Linked DNA regions of Homo sapiens: region 1 is linked to region 2. Evidence: promoter capture Hi-C in 16 types of primary human blood cells and fetal thymus (Javierre and others, 2016). All regions are on one chromosome and are shown on one strand. Each heading gives the region's core, a stretch centred on a gene start or on the middle of the fragment in contact. The rest is flanking DNA. Distances are from core to core; before and after follow the strand shown. Region 1 overlaps LOC124901057 (a long non-coding RNA gene). Region 2 holds the start of PHAX (phosphorylated adaptor for RNA export).

Evidence for each region. Contacts are between HindIII fragments. The CHiCAGO score rates a contact against its expected background, and 5 or more counts as called.
Region 1: a fragment that was not itself captured here is called in contact with the fragment with the promoter of PHAX in region 2 in 1 of 17 cell types (monocytes); the score reaches 5.0 in monocytes.

What each region holds. Positions count from the first base shown.
Region 1 is chr5:127,229,707-127,233,063 of GRCh38, forward strand. It overlaps LOC124901057 (a long non-coding RNA gene), which reads right to left. Exons shown (of 3, transcript XR_007058923.1): 3 at 2,418-3,357. It overlaps LOC105379198, which reads right to left and starts at 678. Exons shown (of 5, transcript XM_041680488.2): 1 at 674-678; 2 at 9-241. The coding sequence starts at 678. It also overlaps a transcript of MEGF10 not described here. RefSeq lists a silencer at 136-195. The HindIII fragment of the contact is 1,217 bases long and covers 1,375-2,591 here.
Region 2 is chr5:126,598,988-126,602,603 of GRCh38, forward strand. PHAX (phosphorylated adaptor for RNA export) reads left to right here and starts at 1,960. Exons shown (of 5, transcript NM_032177.4): 1 at 1,960-2,071. The coding sequence starts at 1,976. RefSeq lists enhancers at 1,042-1,891, 1,892-2,739, 2,740-3,588 and silencers at 1,798-2,007, 2,128-2,377. The HindIII fragment of the contact is 34,757 bases long and covers 1-3,616 here.

The sequences.
Region 1 (3,357 bases), core at 733-3,232, 630 kb after region 2:
TCCCTCACCTCCTCCGGGCGTGTGTATCAGCCGGCATGGCGTCTCTGCCCCATGCCCTGGGCCGCCAGGGGCCCGCAGGCTACGCGGGAGGTGGAGCGAGGGGAGCGAGCAGCGCACCCCCCTCTGGGGGCCGAAGCAGGGACGCCCAGGGCGCAGGCTTTCGGGCTGGACCTCGAGAAACGTGTGCAAAGTATGTGTTTTTGCTTGACACTTGGAGAATTCTGTTTTTTTGGCTTTATTCCTGAAAGCAAAAATGGGCAATTGAGATAAATGAAAAAGAGAGGCATCAATAAGAAAAACGAAAGAGTTCATCAGTGAATTTTTATGGCATCTAAAATTTTAGTTTTTGGTAATTTAGTTTTAGGCAGCAGATGAGACTGTAATATCCCTTGTAGTTTGTCCATGTCGTTCCCCAAGTGTGAAGTACTATGGCCATCGGCAGCAAAAAAGCGTATTGGTGGGATTTCAGGGGATGAGAGCTCTCTCATCAGCAGCCATTCCATCCCATTTTCTTCTCAGGACTGGTTTTTGCTGTTCACTTTTTCCCCTTCCTAGCCCCATTGATCAGGGAAAGGGGTGGAGCTGGAAGGCAGGGAAAAGTATGCGTCAAAATTAAGCTCCGATATTAAAACCCTGGTGTTGAAACCCCGGTGTCCCCAGGCTTGAAGCTAACTGCATGGCGCTCACCCTTTAAATGGTCTACATCCAAGCGGGAAGGCAGAGAGGTCCAGGACTAAGCGACCACCCCAGGGAGGGAAGGACACAAGTGAAATCTGCTCTGGGAGTCCCAGATCTTAGTTCATCCTTGGAGAAAAGTCCTAGAGCCAAGAGACTTAGAAAGTGAGATGAATGAAAGAAAGAAAATAAACAATTGTTGGGTCTGTCAGGAAAGGAGAATGTGGGACTGACCAAGAACGGTTATATTCCAGGCTCCTTACATATATTATGTATCCCTCCCAGCAGCACAGTGAGGCAGGCCTGTTTTGTGATTCCATTTTGCAGATGGGGAGACTGAGGCACGTGGAATCTGTTTGCCAATACCACGTAGGTTTGTGGATCTTTGATTTGAATGTCAGCCTCTGTCATTTTAAATCTTGTGTTATTTTCTTAATGGGAAGCAAGAAAAACATATTTGTGTCCTAATAACCCAATAGAACTGTGGTATTTTAGTGCCACTTATTCAGTCCCTTTCAACGCCTTTATTTCAAAGTTGAAGAGGCAAAATTGCCCAGAGTTGGGCAAGGCAGGCTTGGAATGCTGTCCTGTGTCAGTGAAGGGCACCCACCATCCACCCAAGCCTTTTAGCCCAAATCTGGACACTATCTTGGTGACTCCCCACTACCTCTTACACGGGATCCATTTGTAAGTCCTATAAGCTTCAGCTCTAAAGAACTGAATCCTCCCCCTTCTCTCTCCTGAGTTTATGCAGTAGTCTCCTAATTGATATTTCTAATTCCACTCTTCACCCTGTAGTCATCGTGATGTTTACAAAAATGAAATGGTTTCATTCCTCTGCTTAAAGCACATCAAATAAATCTCATACTCTTAGATTAAAATCGAAACTCCTCAGCATGGCTGCTAGATCCTCCATGAGCTCATCCTTTTCTGCTGATCTTGCTAGGGTCCCTCTCTTCTTCCTGCTCCCTGCTGTTGCCACATGGCCTCCTTCCTGTGTCTTGGGCATATTAGGGATGTGATGCCGGAAACACTCTTTCTTGGAATCTGGTTAGCACCTTCCCATCCATCAGGTCTCTGCTTAAATGGCAGAAAAGCCTTCCCTGACAGCTGCACTCCAAGTGACCCTGTAAAATTACTCTATCACATCAACCCCTTTATTTTCTTCATAGTGTTTATCACCATCTATAATCTTCTTGATAATCTGTATACTTTATCCACTAGAATGTAAGCTGGGGATTTCACTATGTTGTTCATTACCACTTTCCAAGGCTTAGACCAAGGCCTGATACATAGAAAATACTCAAAAATATTTGTTGATTGAATAAATGACCAAATGAGCTTAGGCTTCTTGATTCTAGGCCAGTGCCCCTTCCTTCATTAGCCCAGTATGATATAGGTGTGTGACATACTTGGGAGACGGAAAACAGAAAGGTCGCCTCCAAAGGCTAGTAGAATCAGGAGAATGGAGAATGTGGAAGAAGAGAGAGAGCCTAAACAGACTGAGAAGCGTGGGAAGGGAGAGCAGGGATTAAGTCTGGACTGTGGCCTGTGACAAGATCTCCAGTGAATATTTCTTGATTTATCCACAGACACTGTGATGGAGTTTATTACACATAACAGCAAATTCCAAAGCAGGAGTGGCAGCAGAAAACAATGAAGGCAAAGGAAGTAAGCCCGGGAAGAGAAAGCAGTTTTTGGACAACAGTTCCTTCACCTCAGCATTTTTCATGGATTTCAAATAAGTGGTAACAATATTTTTATTTGCACATTTTCTTTGAAAATAAAAATGATCTTATTGATTTTCAAAAAGGAAATAATCAAAGCATATGTTTATATTTTTCTTGCTATTTTATCTTATTTACAAGTGTAATGGTTACCATTCAGGTGAGGTGGCATATTCTGAAGCATCCAGAAGCTTTCTCTCCAACGAAATTATCTTCCTCATTTTGCTTAAATTTTACATAAGTAGCTGAATGGAGCTTTAAAGTGCTGACAATCAAGATCAACAAAGGCTGAGAAGTTACTACATACAATCCTGTGATCCCTGAGCATGATACATAGACTTTGAGAACTTTGAGGACAGGCTCTGTGCTCTGTTCAGTTTAGTGTCCTAAGGTCAATGGCATATGGTGTTATGCTAGGTACTTGGGAAACAGTCACTGTCTTTAGGATGCTTAGTAGATGTTCAATAAATGTTTAAGATGTTGGGAGGAGCAGATGTGAAATGATAACAAAAAGTAGTACAGGGTAAATGTCCCAAGAGAAGTACAAAACTTGGAGATGTAAAGGAGGAAATTATGGCTTTTCAGAGGGGTCAGGGAGAACCTTATGAAGGGCAAGTATTTGAAGATAGAAAAGATGGGCACTTATTATTAAATGGATGAATACAAGCATTAAATTGCCAAAGGACAAAAAATTCCAAGCAAACACAGAGGCAGGAAAGCATTGCGATTGTAGGATTCAAGCAGAGGAAGAAAAGCGAAATGTCTGGAGCAGCAGGTTGAGGAGACTGTGCTGTTGAGGCCTTGGACCCCAGTAGATGTGAGGAGAGTGTGCTGGATATTTCTGTGAGCCTTAATCCCACCTTGCTGGAGGTAAATTTAATTTGTCATTTGGGTGTTCTCTCTTCTTCAGTCTCTCAGAGACTTTGTGGTTCCTTAAAACACAGGAGAATTGCTC
Region 2 (3,616 bases), core at 710-3,209:
TGCCACGTGGGAGACAGAGTTATTACTCAAATCAATCTCTTGGAGAATTCAGGGACTAGTGTTTTTCAAAGATAGTTTGGGGAAGGGATGGAGTGGCTAAGCAATGGGTTCTTGCTGCTTATTGGTTGGGGATGCAGTCATAGGGGTATGGGAAATTGTCCTCAAGCAGCTCGACAACTTCTGTGTGGGAACCCAGAAGCGGTTAGAGGTTCAGGTGGAACCATTGGTAGTCAGACATGCAAAATATCTGAAAAGATATCTCAAAACGCCAATCTTAGGGTCTACAATAGTGATATTATCTGGAAGAGTAATGGAAAAGTTGCATACCTTGTGACCTCTGGGATAATGACTGGCAACGGTTTATGTCTACACCTTAGCAGAATTCAGCCTCCTTTATCCGTCTACCCTGGTGGTCTCTTACTAGCTTTACAAAGGCGGTTGGCTTTTGGGGAAGGGTTATTATCATTTAAACTATAAACTAAATGTCTCCCAAAGTTACATTGACAGGCCCAAGCACAGGAATAATTAAGGGCAGCTTGAAGGCTAAAAGCAAGATAGGGGTTGGCTAGATCAGATCTCTCCCACTGCCATAATTTTCTCACTGTTATAATTTTCGCAAAGGCGGGTTCCAAGATAACCCTTAAAGAATGGGGTGGGTTGAGGGAAGGGCCTCTCAGGCCGAGTGAACAGCAAATGCAGAGGCCTGGCCTGAGGAACAACAGGTTCAGCGCGCCAGCGGTTAGGCAGGGGGACACACTAGGACCAGTGACCAGATGCCCAGTCCACATGACCTTGTTTGCCATGTGGCAAAGTAAAACAGAGGTTCCTCTTCAAAAACTTTCCTCCCCGTCTAATTAGGAATAAATAGTAACTTCTCTTAAAAGCAAAATTTATTCAAAGATCTGTGCTAACATTCTTAAATATCTGCTAGCCATAATAAAAAAAAATGTACTTTATGTTCTTAGCTCCCACAATTTAGCCTAAATATTTGCCCTGGCATGCTTTTACTAGTCCAAGCAAGCATTAGGTCATAGCCTGTTCCTCTTCCTTATTTAAAAGTGTTTTCATCTTTCTCAGCATTCCACAAGTTACTTCCTCCTTCCTTTGTTCTCCTCTACCTTTGCCTCTTTTAAAAAGTTCTAAGTTGCTAGCCAATCGGGACAAATACAAAATGTGAGGTCCGGTCCAGCCAATAAAAACCAGCCACAGCAGTAAGGTAAACACGTCAGGTTATAAATGACCCTGTCTCCTTTTGTTCAGTGTACTCTCCTGGCAAAACTGCTGGCGAGTGTACCCTTTCTGCAGAAAGTAAAAATGGCCTTATTCAGTAAGTTAAATTTATGTTGCTATTTCTTTACGACACCGGAAAACAAACATTTCAAACACCATGCTGAGAACTCAGTCCTTGTTTTGGGGAGGGATGCACTTGGAAGATTCGAGCTAAGGTACAATCCTCCCTAGGTATCCGCGGGTCATTGTTTTCAGGACCCCCACAGATACCAACATCCGCCATGCTCAAGCCCCTTACATTATGTGGGGGTGCACGGTGGGTCCTTCCCATCCGCAGGTTCGGCATCCGTGGATGGGGAGTGGATACAGAGGGCGGACTATACAGCTTGAAAGGCTTCCCTGGAAGCAATATGTAGAGTGGATTGTGGAGGAGCAAGAACAGAAGCGGGGAGGCTTGTCCAGAGCATACAGGGGAAGGATGTACGGCCAAGGGAGGAATCCCAGACGACCGCGATACGTGACATATTTATGTTTGCACGAAAATAAAGTTTGGAAGAAAAGTGTTGGGGGAACAAGGGATTCATTTTCCCGGGGTAGTTGGAATGCAATGGGACGCCTCAGGCCGCTGGGACAGGCTGGCCTCCGCGCGGGGGCGCCCGAGCAGCCGAGCCGCCGGGCCTTCCGGCTGCCCCGCCGGAAGTGCTCTCCTGACCCGCCGCTGTGCAGCGCAGCGCACCGCGGGAAGATGGCGTTGGAGGTCGGCGATATGGAAGATGGGCAGCTTTCCGACTCGGATTCCGACATGACGGTCGCACCCAGCGACAGGCCGCTGCAATTGCCAGTGAGTGTGAAAGGAGGGTGGGTGATCGTGGCTGGGCGCGCGGAGCCTGGGCCCCGGGGAGCGCGCAGGCAGCGGTGAGGGTGAGGGGTGGGAGCTAGGAGCCCGGGCCAGAGCGAGGAGCCCAGGCTGTCGGGTCAGTGGCCGCAGAAGGGGCGAGCAGACGTCCCCCAGGCGGGCTCACGGAGCCCGGGCTGCGGGGGCCGAGGGGCGAGGGGCGACGGCGGCAGCGGCAGCGGCTGGCCGTGCGAACCCCGAACTGGCTGCTCCCTGCGAGGCGGGGCGCGCGAGCCCTGGCGCCTCCTGGAGGCCGGCTTGCGGCGGCCTCTTAGACGTCTCACCTCCGCCTACCGCTCTTTCTTTTCTAAACTTGGGGCTTCCCCACTCCATCGCCGCTAGGTAACCATAAAGGGGCAGATTTTGCCAAATATGTAGCATCTAGGGACATCAGCCTGAAACAGCCTGTGATGCTCATTTTCTCCCTGAGCCGAAGGGAGACTGAGGCCCAGGAATGAAGTTTATCGCTCACTCAAAGATCTGGTTTTCCATGTTTCCACCGAACCTAGCTTTGTCATGCGGTACCATGGCACTAGGCTTTTGCATTAGCCTCTCTGATTTTGTTTGTTGTTTTGAGGTGGTCTCACGCTGTTGCCCAGGCTGGAGTGCAGTGGCGCGATCTCGGCTCACTGCAACCTCCGCCTCCCGGGTTCAAGCGATTCTCCTGCCTCAGCCTCCCGAGTAGCTGGGATTACATGCGCCCGCTGCCACGCCCGGTTAATTTTTGTATTTTTGGTAGACGCGGGGTTTCACCATGTTGCCCAGGCTGGTCTCGAACTCCTGACCTCAAGTGATCGGCCTGCCTCGGCCTCCAAAAGTGCTGAGATTACAGGTGTGAACCACGGCGCCCGGCCACATCCAGCTAATTTTGTATTTTTAGTTGAGACGAGATTTCTCCATGTTGGTCAGGCTGGTCTCGAACTCCCAACCTCAGGTGATCCGCCCGCCTCGGCCTCCCAAAGTGTTGGGATTACAGGCGTGAGCCACCTCGCCCGGCCTAATTTTTGTATTTTTAGTAGAGACGGGGGTTCTCCATGTTGGCCAGGCTGGTCTTGAACTTCCGACCTCAAGTGATCCACCCGCCTCGGCCTCCCAAAGTGCTGGGACTACAGGCGCGAGCCACCGCGCCCGGCCCAGCTTCCCTGCTTTCTAAACGGGAATTTGTCTTGACTGCCTTGGTAGGTAGCAACCTCTTTGAGAGGGCGTTGGTGCCAGGCTGCCTGTGTTCAGATCCTGGGGCCACCGATGTGTGACCTACAGCAGGTTTATTTAGCCTCACTGCTTTTTGTCTACCTCTGTGGAATTGGCATGATGTACCACTGATAGGGTTATTGCAAGGATTCTGTGGAGCATACAGTGTGCAGTAATGCCTGGTAAGTGTTATCTCTGATTATTATTTGAAGATAGGAAGATAGATAGTCCCAACTTCCATTTCTAGCGTAGTAGGAGTTTAACAAAGACAAATACTTGCTTTTGCATATAAATGTTTAG